2 separate regions of the Homo sapiens genome follow, and region 1 is linked to region 2. Evidence: promoter capture Hi-C in 16 types of primary human blood cells and fetal thymus (Javierre and others, 2016). All regions are on one chromosome and are shown on one strand. The core of a region is centred on a gene start or on the middle of the fragment in contact, and the rest is flanking DNA. Distances in the headings are between cores, read along the strand shown.

Region 1 (6,260 bases), core at 2,802-5,301, 500 kb after region 2:
TCCACTGCATGGAAAATCTGGCATACGATTACTGTCCAGAGCTCTGGAAGAATGCTAGCCTTGCACAGATATTTTCTTTGCCTGGTTAGGCTGTCAAACACCCTGACCTCGTCAATGTTTTAAAAGGTAGGAGTTGTTACAGTTCTCAGTCCCCTAAGAGGCTGACCAAGTGCTGAGAGGGGCTCCCAGCTTCTCTGCATTCTGGAAAACCCACCGCAGAGCCCCGCCCTAGTGTGCTTCCGGTAAGAAACCAAAGAAAAAAGCCTACTGTCTGGTCCCTAGCATTGGCTGCCCACCCTCTGAAAAGCGACTGAGTCCTTGAGTCTCCTGGGATGTTCATATGAATCCCCTTGAAGCTTTAATTTGATAAGACCTCAGTGGAGACTGCTGAACCCCTGGGATTTAACATCATATATTATTCATTGTTGCTGTTGCCACAGACGTGCTGATTTTGCCCCTGCTGAGCAAGGCACTTCTGCACATGGGAACTTGATGGCTAACCACACTGCATGTTCTTCAGGCAGGGCCTATCCCAGAACGTTCCAAGCTGTCTGCTAGCAAGTCTGCATTAACTCCCTCAATGCTGCATGCACGGTGTCCCTGAGTCCTTCACCACCCGCCCCGCCACCAGAGCCAGTCTTTTTAAGAATTTTGCCTGGGCTGTGTTTTTCAAAGTGCCTCTCTCTAGTGTGCATCTCTTCTTAATCACAGAAAGCAGATCTGAGTAAGTAAAACTGGGGCATTTGGCCTTTACTCAACATCAGGGCACTTAGGAGACCGGGGCCCTTTGATAAGTTTTTCCCATTTTCATTTTATCTGAATTTTACAAGTCAGTCTTCTCCAGCCTTAGTTTATAAGCACCACTTTCAGAAGTCCACCAGCAGCGCAGATTTTCAAGAAGTGCCATTAGCAACCACTGTGCCTTACTTTTATATCTAACATTTAAAAACTTTTCTAAGTACTCACACATTACCATTAGGGAAGGGTGGGTGTATATTTGAAGGAGAGAATGTACTGCTCTATTCTCACGACTCAGAGGACAGATGAATTTTCCCCTTCTCAGGTGAACTAAGTAAAGTGGAGGCTGAATCCACTATTTTGGTAACCAAAGAAAAAGTGGGGTTAAATGCTCTGCCTGAGTTAACCAGACAGTTAACTGACTGGACCTCAGTTACCAGACTGGGGATTGAGAACAGTTCTTTTCAGAGAGGTAAAGTGAAGGTAAAAGAAGAAAAGGAGCCTGCTTATAGAATTTTCAGCATTAGTTAATGAAGTTGCAGGGTTCCATTATTTCAGGCGATAAATTTAAGAGGAGTGTTAGTATCTAAGTCAGGACAATTTATATTTGGTCTACTGCATTTGCGTAGTCACGATATGCCAATTTCCTCTTTATCTTTTCGGCAAACATTTCCTGACCCTTAGCTGGATCCCTCAGGATTCTGTATTCAGTTTTTCTCCTTGCACCAATAATCTTGTTTAAGATGAATGATAGGAATGTTTTGGGCTGAAAGTAATTTAGTCTTTGTACAGTGGAGTTCTAATCCCTCTGATGGGCACCATATCCCCCCAGCACAAACATTAGATTTGGAACCTAAGCTGGAATGTTTTGGAGGGGCAAGTAATTAAATCAGAAGTGTTTGAATTCCCCCTTCCCCCACTCCCTTCAAACTTACTTGGATTCACGGTTAAGAGAGTTCCTTTTCCAAATGTCAGTTTATAGTTGCTACCTCCACTATTCTCACAGCCACAGAAGGCTTTACAGAAACAGGAACAGAAGCTGCTCTTTGCAGAAGGGTCCTGGGGGTCAATATAGTCACGATTGCTCAACTCTTCATTAAGCTACAGGTTTATAGGTTATTTGATAATAAGTCCAGAATGCAGCTGCTGTAGGTGAGTGCTGGAGTTCCAGAGGACAATATATCATATATATATAGATATATATATATGTATATATCTTTAAAGTTTTTGAAATTTAATTTTAATTTTTTTTTATCATTTTCTTTGTGACTAAGCTGCCATCATGGTTCCAGTAATCCATTTCTTTCTTTTTTTTTCTTTCCTAATTATCTTCCCTTGGCTGGTACTCAGATAGTTTCTACTTTTTGCACTTGTTGGGGTAACTATTTCTCTGCTTTTTTTTTCGTTGAAATTGCATATCAATTCACCGGATTCTGATTTACTAGAAACTGATTGTAGAAGGGGAGGGAAGCGAGACAGTTTTTACAGGGAGGTGTTTAAAAGTGGAAATTTGAGGGCTTTCCTGTCTTTCCTGGTCTGCTTCTCTACAAAGGACAATGCAAAATGAGTATACGTCCCTCAAGGAGAGCTTGCAGGACACGGTCTAGAAAGGAAAAGACTGTACTCAGCTGCATGTAGCTTCACCCTGTCATACTTACTTGGGTTGATAGTCAGCCTGGTTCCTTGGCCAAATACCAGCTTCTGGGCTCCCTGAATTACACCACAGCACGAGGCTTTACAGAAACTGCCAGCGAGGGCCCACCTCTCCCCACTGAGGAAGACATATGATCTGCCCTCCTAGCAGTCCAGGGCTGTGGCAGAGAATGGCCCGAATTTCACTGGCCAGAGAAGTTTAGGACAGGATCTCCTTGGGCTGCTCATTTTCTCTTTCACAAAGCCTCCTTTAGCAGTTGTAGACATGGTCCAGATTTTCCAGTTGCCTTGCCAATCAAATATTTAACATCTTTGTTTTCACCCCACAGAATTTTAATTTTTTTTTAAAACATTTCTTTCATCTTTTACAGAGCTCTCCCTAAAAACAGCTGGATTAAAAGAATCTTTAAAGTCAGAGTCTACTAGGTCTCCCGAGTAAAGTTAATCTGGCTTCCTCCTTAAAATTTCCGGTTTGAATGCGAGGGCCTGCTCATCTGGGACCTAATTTGTCGTGCTAAGACAGGAAAGGTGAAAAGGCAATGCAGAAAATCCAGGGGAAATCCTGCACTGTGAGATCTTCTTGTCCCTCCACACTTACTTGGATTTATTTTTGTACTCATCCCCTTTCCCCAACAGGAGCATTACCAGCACTTGTCACTAACAGGGATCCATCCTCCAAATCAACTCTAGAGACTCCCACCCACAGGAATTTTAGTGTGGAAACAGACATGGTTTCTTCCTCTGCTCAGGGAAATTTAATTGAAAAACCATTTCTAATTTTGCCAAATGGAAAGGATTAGGAGAAAATCTGTTTGCCTCTGTTCTCCTTCCTCCTCCCCCTTCGTCTTCAACAGTTTTAAACTATTTATAGAAACATCCCTTTAGGGTTAGAGAAATGTGGCAAATTTCTAATCTCTTCATCCTTTTTCTTGCTATCTATTTACCGCAGTCATGTATTTACAATCTAAATTTACATTTCATTTCCATTTGCAGGAGCTTCTAATGCACTTCTCTATTACTTCAAGAACACTGTGTATAATAATAAACTCTACAGAAATAAACCAAATCACAAGAAGCTTTCAGGTCTGGAGGCTGACATTTCTCAAGACAGGTATGGGGCAAACAACTTATTTCTCTTCCAGGCAAGACTAAGATAGGGGCAGCCCAGTCAACTGAGCAACTAGGCTTGCAGGGTGGACATGTTATGTCTAAATAACTATCTATTGAGCCTTGCTCCTTGGGATTAATTTGGATTTTCTTTTTAATCTAGTTCCCAAATACCAGCTTCCCATCTTTTAGCTCTTAGAATCTCTCTGACAGGGAAAGCTTAAGTTAAATCTCATGGGGTTTTTGAATCTCAACAAATATTTCACCTCAGTACACATCACAAATAGAGGCAACAAAAGAAGGATGAATATAACACCTTTGGGAGAGAATTTATAACAGTTCTTTGGGAAAGATGGGAATTATAAGAAAAAGTAGAATTGTGTGTGCTTTTCCTGATTATCATTTTTAGTATCTGCAGGACTGTAAATGTCCAGTCCAGTTTGGAAATGGAGCAGCTGACTCACCTGCTCTTTAGACCTTTGTTAACCAGTGAACACACAGGTTAGCGTGGAAATGCTTTTCTCTCTTATGCTGTTTTAGGCATAAGAAACTTTAGGAAGGTCGCATGGGGTTCACATAATACATACTAGGACATTCTGATTCTAGCCATTCTAATGGGGATAATAATTTGGTCATAAAAGTAGTTTTATTTTAAGATACTCATTGAATAGTTGGTATCTTTTGGGAATTATGAGCAAAAGTTAAATCCCAAACAATTGTTTGAAATGAGCTTGCATTATCATAGAAAGCAGAGATTCCCTCATGGAACAAAATTTCAGCTACATTCAAGTTAACTGAAATTAGGTTTGTTTTGAGAATGGTGGAGCAATACTCAAAATATTCCCCCAAGTATTGCATTTGGATTAGGGAATCCTTCTCTAAGCTTAGTTGCCACCTTTTCAATGAGGGACTCAGAAGTGAGTGGGTATCAAAAGGGGCTTCTCTGGTGCAGAAAGCTCAGACAAGGCAGAGATGAAAATGTTCCATGAGGACCCAATTAGAAATGCAGCAGTTAACAGCACCCTGGGGCTTGTTTTCAGAAGTTCGTGGTCTTTCTGACTAATTTGAATATTTGCTTTCAATCTTAACTTTTCCCTAAATATCAGCTTGTAGTCAGTGTCAGTACCAGAAAATCTTACACGGCTTTACCCAATTTAGCTTGGCTCCAAGATTTTGAGTTATGGGGATTAGACAATTCTTTTCCTAATTGCACCAACATGGAAGCTTTGGGAAGACAAGTCAGCTGACACGGAGTGCTGGCTCAGTTGTTTAATCAGCAGGCTACATCTCACTGTTTCCTTTTGGATTGGGTTGCATTGCATACTCCCAGCCATTGGTATGTATTTTAGTCTAATCTGTCCTTCTTTTGTCCTTTCTAAATGCTTTCTGCCCCTACACACTAAAACTTCAATTCAGATTCCATTTGTCAGACACATATCTCCAACATTAACAAAAACACACTGAACATTCCCAAGTACTTAAAGGTGTTAAAGAAACAGTCCCAAAGGGGCTGCAGTCAGGGGCTGCCCACATTGTCATTTTCTCCAGAAAGACCCATGGTGAAAGATGCTAATAACTGGGCAGGAGATTCGGTTATCTTTCACTGAATTTCTAAGGATGGTGGCTTATGTTTGGAAACAAATAACATTCATTAAAACATACCTGGTCTAACACTCAGAGTTATTCCTTTTCCAAATGTCAGCTTACTATTGGCTCCAGTATAACACAATGACACGAGGATCTACAAAAACTCAGTTGCCCAGACTCCCCTTGATATTTACTTAAGTGCTTACTTGTCATCCAAGAATCCCCCTGATAAAACCAGCTGTTTATAGTGTGGGACTGGTGGAAGAGTTTACGGACCACCTGGGGCCTTCCTTTCTCTTCACACTCATTGTCCCCTTATTGGAAATGTACCAACATCCCCTCACAGCACGCCGGCTGTGGTAAAATGGGAACAGGAACTGCCTCCCCCATTCTACAGAGGAGGAAAATAGAGGCTCAGAGAGTTAATCAATTTTCTCTTAGTCCCATGGAAAATCTCACCAATTATAACGAAGAATGAAGCCTTCGAACAGTCTGACTCCTTAACTCAGTGCTCCATTGGTACTGTCATTCTCAGCTATTAGATAAAATAGCACATGAGGGCAAACAACAGAGACCTGCGTGTAGTAGGAATACACCAGCAGTTGTTTTGCACTGGAATCCATTAATGGGACTGCTGTGGTTTGGACCTGGGTTATAAAACAGAATGGAAAATTTGGAAATCAGGGTTCCAGGGAGAAATTTGGAAGCATTATTCAGACTTACATGGGTTTACTGTCAGTTTCGTTCCCTTTCCAAAGACCAGCTTTTCAGATCCGCCCTGAGTTACACCCCCACAGACTGCTTTACAAATACTGCCAAGACCCTTCCATCATGGGCTGGGAGCCAGGGCTCCACCCACTCTCCCAGGGGAAGCATAAAATTATACAATTGTATAGCTATTCCCGAAAAGGGAGGGGACCTATAGAACAAATCTGATTACTTTTTTACCTTACAGCCTGTTAGGTTGTTATCTTATTAATTAAGTAATTAGTTAATCTAACTGGTCAGCAGTTGCAGTTAATTTAAAAGAGCTCAGGCTTTGGGGCAGGTAGGCTTGAGTTTAAAACTCAGGACAAGTTTCCTAACTTGCTACACCTCAGTTTCCTCACTTGTAAAGTGGGGAAAACAGCAACTGCTTGATGATGTTGTAAGGATTAAGAATATGTAACTGGGTC
Region 2 (6,962 bases), core at 1,610-4,109:
ACTCAGAGAATGTTAGAGGAGCCAGTTTCATGAGGCAGAGAAGATGAGATCAGTTTAGGATATTGGGTGCTTCTGAGACAGCCATTGGAGATGCTAGTAGTTAGTTGAGTTTTTAATTCCAAGAAAGACTGGGCTGGAAATATGGATTAGGGAGTCACCTGCATATACAGATTATAATTAAAGTCTTGGGAACGAAGAGGGCCTTTGGAGATCCCAGCTCCAGTTTAGACTGTGGAGAGGCCACCTGAGGTCATGAGCACTATTGGAGCATGCCCTATTAGCATATGCGTCTTCTACTTCTTCCCCTTCACTCATCTCTGCTTCCAGTTATCCCTTGAAAACACAGGCTGTTCATCCCAGTTGTGCCCATTGCTACCACCAACTCTTGCATGGGCCTCCTTTAATGGCCTCCCAACATTTCATAAGATTTCCTCTCGCATCCTCACCCCAAAGGATCAAAGCTTCCAAATATTAGTAGTTGTGTGGATATTTTGGATGTAATTGGAAGGAAGAATCAAAGTTCTCCTTCCTCATCTGGACACAGGAAAGGAGGGAACACATTATGGTTAATTCTGAAGATGTTGCTCACAGCAGGTTCTAGATGCAATCCGATAGCTCCCCTCTGTTCCTAGTGCTTTCAGTCCTCCCTGCTTCCACTCTGGTAGGAAACTCTCCTCAGGATCAGAGAAAAGCCGTGGCCTTGACCAGGGAAACAGAGGCTGATTCTCAGGGGAGATGAGGTCAGGGAGACAATGCAACTAGGACGAAGAAGCCAAATAGTTTGGCACAAATTAATTTCCCAAAAGATATTAACCTCGTTTCTTTCCACATTCCCTAAGGCTACACTAAGATTATAAAAGGTGTTCAAAATGTTGAGATGAAAATAATATGCATGACTTGTTTGCATATAATTTTCATACTCATTTACTATCTAAATACAAAGGAGTCATTTTCCTTCTCCATTCTACTTCCTCCACCCCTTGCCCCTGATGTTTTAGTCTGGGCAAAAGTAGTTGGCTGGTTTTTAAAAAATTTTTTTGAGACGGAATCTCCCTCTATCGCCCAGGCCTGAGTGCAATGGCACAATCTCGGCTCTCTGCAACCTCCGCCTCCTGGGTTCACGCGATTCTTCTGCCTCAGCCTCCCAAGTAGCTGGGACTACAGGTGCACGCCACCACACCGGCTAATTTTTGTATTCTTAGTAGAGACGGGGTTTCACCATACTGGCCAGGCTGGTTGCAAACTCCTGACCTCGTGATCCCGCCGCCTCTGCCTTCCAAAGTGCTGGGATTACAGGCGTGAGCCACCGCTCCCGGCCGTTGGCTGGTATTTAATTAGGTATGTTTAGCTTCATCTAGGGTTTCTTTAAAAAAAATTATTATTTATTTTTGAGAATTTTTTTGAGACGGAGTCTTGCTCTGTCGCCCAGGCTGGAGTGCAGTGGCCGTGATATTGGCTCACTGCAACCTCTGTCTCCCGGGTTCAAGCGATTCTCCCGCCTCAGCCTCTCGAGTGGCTGGGACTATAGGCGTGCGCCACCACGCCTGGCTAATTTTTGTATTTTTAGTAGAGATAGGGCTTCACCATGTTGGCCAGGCTGGTCTGAACTCTTGACTTCAAGTGATCCGCCCGCCTCAGCCTCCCAAAGTGGTGGGATTACAGGCGTGAGCCACCGCGCCCGGCTGCTTCAGCCAGGGTTTCTTTTCCTTATTCTTGATCCTTTTAAAATAGTCAATATCAGCCTCTTTTCCATCCTGATCATTTTCATTTGCAATTTCCTCTACACGGCATTTCTTTTCTTCCTCTTAATACTTACTCTGTATCACCAGTCTTCTGTGGACCAAAACCAAAGGGAGAAGGTGTTCGCTAGCCCTAAAACCAGGCCTTCGATCTCCACAGTCACCTGAAATGAGAAAAATCTCATTTCCCAACACCAGGGGGTGTCTATCCCTCTAACTGTCCTACCCTTAAGGTAGAGATTAGTCCCAAACCTTTTCCTCACTCCTTTTCACTGCTTCTACATACACACTATATCTCTTTCCCTCCCTCTCAAAGTAGAGATTAGTCCCATTTTCCTGACTCCTTTTCACTGCTTTTACAAATCACAAAACTTTTGGGTCCAGAAGGTGGTGCCTTTTTATTGCAGTTTATCTGTTTGTCTCTCATTCTCTCTGGACAAGCTTGTCCTTTCCTTTGTCTGCGCACCCTTCGGTCTCTGCATCGTCCACACTCCTCTTTGCTCCTCAGCTCTCCCTTTCTTTCGCTACCTCTTCCCTCTTCCACCTCTCTCTGTGGGCTTCGTCGCCTTTCAGGGCTATCTTTACGTACACGTCTCTGAACCTCTTTATGCATTTGTCTTCTTTCTCTCTGTCTTCCTCTTTATGGCTCTCTCCTTGTCTCACCATTTCTGTACCAGTCTCTCTCCATCTCTCCCACAGTCCCCACGCTGGGAACAAAGTCACGGTGCTAGCGCAGAACATGCCTCCTGTCGTCCGGTCCCGGGACGCGACACATTCCACCATGCCCCTCCGCGCATTCCAACTGCAGACAAAGAGTCCCCGTCCCCTACCCCCACACTCTTTCCTATTCCAATTCTTCAGTGTTGTAGGGGCAGCTGCCCCAACTGCCCCTGCCCGCCTCTCACGTCCAGTCCGCGGGTCTCCACATCCAGGGCAGTTAGCGCCTTCCGCTGCACGCACACCAGCTATCCCTGCGCGGACACCCCCGGCGCTCTCGCACACACCGCGCTCCGCCCCCCTAGGAAAGTAGATCCGGCCAGGCAGACAAAAGTTTGGGAGAGAAGTTCGGTCTGTGGCTAGCGTGAGAGCTAGGGGGGCGGGGGCCGGGGAGAGTGGGGCAGTCGGGCGAGTCGACGCGTGAACAGATAGACCTGCGGACTGGACAGCCGCGGCCAGAGACCCTGCTAGCCCCGCTCAGCCCCAGATGCGCGGGGGGACGCAGCCCCTCCCGCTGGGGGATGCTGTGGGATTCCTGGCGCAGGGCATCCAGGCCGCCCGCTAAGCCCCTGTGCCTCCCCTGTGCCCCTGGGGAACCAGAGTCCGGCTGCAGGGAAAGAGAACCGGCCGCCGAGACGCCGCAGGGTGCCAGGCGGGGAGGGGGCGAGAGGCCCCAGGCCCGAGGGCATGGAGCGGTTAGGAGAGAAAGCCAGTCGCCTGCTGGAGAAGTTCGGCCGCAGAAAGGGTGAATCTAGCCGGTCTGGGTCTGACGGGACCCCCGGGCCGGGCAAGGGGCGCCTAAGTGGGTTGGGGGGACCTAGGAAGTCAGGGCCCCGAGGAGCTACTGGGGGACCTGGGGATGAGCCGTTGGAGCCGGCCCGGGAGCAAGGTTCCCTGGACGCTGAGCGAAATCAGCGCGGCTCCTTTGAGGCGCCGCGCTACGAAGGCTCTTTTCCCGCGGGGCCGCCGCCCACCCGGGCCTTGCCTCTACCTCAGTCGTTGCCCCCCGATTTTCGGCTGGAGCCCACGGCCCCGGCCCTCAGCCCCCGCTCTAGCTTCGCCAGTAGCTCGGCCAGCGACGCGAGCAAGCCGTCCAGCCCCCGGGGCAGCCTGCTGCTGGACGGGGCGGGGGCTGGCGGAGCTGGAGGTAGCCGGCCCTGCAGCAATCGCACCAGCGGCATCAGCATGGGCTACGACCAGCGCCACGGGAGCCCCTTGCCAGCGGGGCCGTGCCTGTTTGGCCCACCCCTGGCCGGAGCACCGGCAGGCTATTCTCCCGGAGGGGTCCCGTCCGCCTACCCGGAGCTCCACGCCGCCCTGGACCGATTGTACGCTCAGCGGCCCGCGGGGTTCGGCTGCCAGGAAAGCCGCCACTCGTATCCCCCGGCCCTGGGCAGCCCTGGAGCTCTAGCCGGGGCCGGAGTGGGAGCGGCGGGGCCCTTGGAGAGACGGGGGGCGCAACCCGGACGACACTCTGTGACCGGCTACGGGGACTGCGCCGTGGGCGCCCGGTACCAGGACGAGCTAACAGCTTTGCTTCGCCTGACGGTGGGCACCGGTGGGCGAGAAGCCGGAGCCCGCGGAGAACCCTCGGGGATTGAGCCGTCGGGTCTGGAGGAGCCACCAGGTCCTTTCGTTCCGGAGGCCGCCCGGGCCCGGATGCGGGAGCCAGAGGCCAGGGAGGACTACTTCGGTGAGTGAGAGAAGTGGTTAGGGACGGGAAGGGACCCGTCACGGTATTCGGTTCTCCACTGCCCCGACGGCCCAAAGTGCCGGTGCCCCGGGGTCCGAGGTGAAGACGCGGGACTAGGAAAGAAGCAAGAGGGATGGATGGGGGCGGCCCCAGAGCACTGTCCCCTTCCTGCTAGTTTTCAGATGAACCAGGGCTCCTTATTTCTGCTAAATTCAACCCCCCTGGTATCTCGTGAGTCCGTTTCTCAAGCATTTGAACCTCGGTTTTTTGCGGCAGGAGGCCTCGTAGGGAAGGGACCAAGTGGGGCAGTGAAGGCGCATCCCCCCCAACTTGCTCCCCCCTTTCACGGCGGTGCCCCTGGAGGTTTGTGCGCGCCGCGCCCCCACCCGGGCCCAGGCTCCGCCCGCAGGAATTCGGAGAATGCGCGGGTGGGGGGGCGGGGCAGGCTGGCCGCGTGCGTGCCGACTCCTGCCCGGGCGCTCCAGGTGCCCGCGGGCGGGGCGGCTGCCGCCGCGCGGCGGAGGGGTGGGGTTCGGGGATCGGGGGACGCTCCCTAGCATACGCGGAGTAGTGGCGGCTGTCGGGGAAATGGAGCCTGGGAGACAGGATGGAGCGCCCTGGGACCCAACTGCTGTCCCTCCCCAGTCCTGTTGGCTAGGTGCGTGCGTGGGCATTTAATCAGAGACCCAGTAGTACCAGCTTCTATTTTCCCCATCCTCCGGAAGTCAGGGTAAAAGTCATGACTACTGGGACACCATTACCTCTGGATGGATAACGACCCTGTGTTATTGCCAGAAATAACTTGGCCTTGAATTCTGCTTATAACCTCTCAGAATTCAGGCCAGAAGTAGCGCCTTACTTCCTGACACTGTTAAGGAAACCTGGTCGCTGTCTCCCTCCCCTACTCTGTTCAGGAAGTATTGATTGATTATATGTCTCAGCTATGAGGAACATTAGGGTCTTGAAAGATCTTTTAGTCAAAATTCACAGGCACTGCTACACACATAAAAAACTTCGAATCTGATTGTGATTGGAAAGAAGTGGCAGGCTTACCGCCTAAGGGCTGTGGGCCTCTTTCACTTTTCTAAGCATCTCTTCTTACCACTCATGCCCCACTCCTGGACCCCATGCTGTAGAACTCTATGGCTAGAAAAGTGAATAGGAAGAGGAACGCGGCCAGGGAGGGATGGTTGGGTAGGAGGTTCAGAGGTAGCAGGGCGGCAGGCTATAAGGGCATAACTCAACCCCCAGCCTCCACCCCCATTCTTTTCCCCACCTCCAAATCCACCGAGAGGAAAGCCCAGAGGAGATGATGCCAAACCGCTTTGATCAAGGAAGACTGAATGACAGGGCCCATTTAGCAGTTTCATTTTGAGGCCCAGGAGAGGTGGCTAGTAAAGAAGTCTTTTTGGCTGAACCATCAGAGCCAAAAGGAAGAAAGGAACTCAGAGAAACTGCAATAAAATGGCAGGAAGAACATAGGTATAGATATGCTGGGTTAGAGGAGGTGAGGCCAACGTGCCTGAGCAGTTTCGTTTGCTTTTCCCATAACGTCCAAGGTTTCCTAAAGAATGGCTCCGACAGGACCCCCTGGCATGGCAATCTTGGGGCAGATCTTCACTTCCATGAGGAAGCCACATTTTGAATTCAGAGATGGGGGCCCCTTCTCCTTGGGAGTCAGGTTGCCTCCTTTGACAGAACCCCTACATACCCCTTGTGCCGCTAGCCCCAGCTTGACTGTACCCTCCTCCTGCCCCTAGTAGGGGCCCTCTTCCTTGGCTTCAGCCTTGCCCAGCTGCCAGAGGGTGGGAGCAGGACAGGCCTGGGCCCATCAGTTGCTGCAGCTGCTGCACAGGCTCCCAAGCCCCTGGGCAAAGACTGGGATGGGCCCCAACAGGCAGGGAGTGTGGCAGCGTGCCGAGGGGGAGAGGTGGGGCAGGCCCGTTGGGATCTGCTCCCCAAAGACAGGCCCTAGCCCTCACTCATGGGCCTGGAATTGGGGAGTGGAGGGAGGGAAGAACACACCCAGGAAAGGCAAGTCCCAGAGCCAGGTGTATATATCTTAGTGGGGGATTTTGGGGAATAGCAAGCAGTTCAGTTCTGTATTCTTCCCATGATAGAAGGTGACTAGGAGGCATCAGGGGCTCTGCTACTCTCCCTGCTTTCCTGTTCAACCCTGGTTCCTGGAACACACCCTGCATTCTCAGCAGCCACCTCCCCACAGGAATCATGCTCACATGGTCCCCTCTGCACGGAGCCCTCTGCCAAGCCAGATCCTTTTCTCCATCCTTGGAAGTCTGCAGTGGAGAGAAATCATTCTATAACTGAACAGCTCGTTTGACTGATGGGAAACTGAAGTCCCAGAGACGATTTCTGGGCCTAGCCTGCTTTCTCTAGAAAGTATTTTCAAGTCTGCTGCTGAGCACCTGTGGACTGGCATCTTTGACCGTTCATCCTACACACTGCAACAGAGATCATACCTTGCCTGTGTAGTCTTTTCTCCCCAACAGAAACTAAGCATCTGAATGCCAGGGACCATATCTTCGACTTTCTCCAGGTTTCCTTAGGTAGTGGTGCTGTGTTAAGCACAAAACAGATGCTCAGAAAATATCTGTTGAGTAATTAAATAAACAAGAATGGATCTGCTCAGCCAAGATCTTGCTGCATCTCATTACTCGTTATCTTCTCTACTCAGAAGGGAGCCCATCAAAGGGAGACTGTGACCCCTGGCACATCAGGAAAGGGCAGTCAGGAAAGCTTGGGAATCCCTGGTTTTGACCTGGGGGAGTAGAGTGTGACACTTTTCTCTTCTC

The links. The method cuts DNA at HindIII sites, captures the fragments that hold promoters and counts their contacts. A CHiCAGO score of 5 or more calls a contact.
Region 1: a contact is called between a fragment that was not itself captured here and the fragment with the promoter of AJUBA in region 2, in 1 of 17 cell types (naive B cells). The highest score is 5.2, in naive B cells.

What each region holds. Positions count from the first base shown.
Region 1 is chr14:22,478,483-22,484,742 of GRCh38, reverse strand. TRD-AS1 (TRD antisense RNA 1) reads left to right here and starts at 1,784. Exons shown (of 5, transcript NR_148361.1): 1 at 1,784-1,890; 2 at 3,385-3,502. It also overlaps TRA, TRAJ57, TRAJ56, the pseudogene TRAJ55, TRAJ54 and TRAJ53. The HindIII fragment of the contact is 664 bases long and covers 3,720-4,383 here.
Region 2 is chr14:22,978,448-22,985,409 of GRCh38, reverse strand. AJUBA (ajuba LIM protein) reads left to right here and starts at 2,859. Exons shown (of 8, transcript NM_032876.6): 1 at 2,859-4,149. The coding sequence starts at 3,144. It overlaps AJUBA-DT (AJUBA divergent transcript), which reads right to left and starts at 1,086. Exons shown (of 3, transcript XR_007064074.1): 1 at 590-1,086. It overlaps LOC124903287 (a long non-coding RNA gene), which reads right to left. Exons shown (of 2, transcript XR_007064076.1): 2 at 6,189-6,760. RefSeq lists enhancers at 1,879-2,844, 2,845-3,810. The HindIII fragment of the contact is 4,726 bases long and covers 2,183-6,908 here.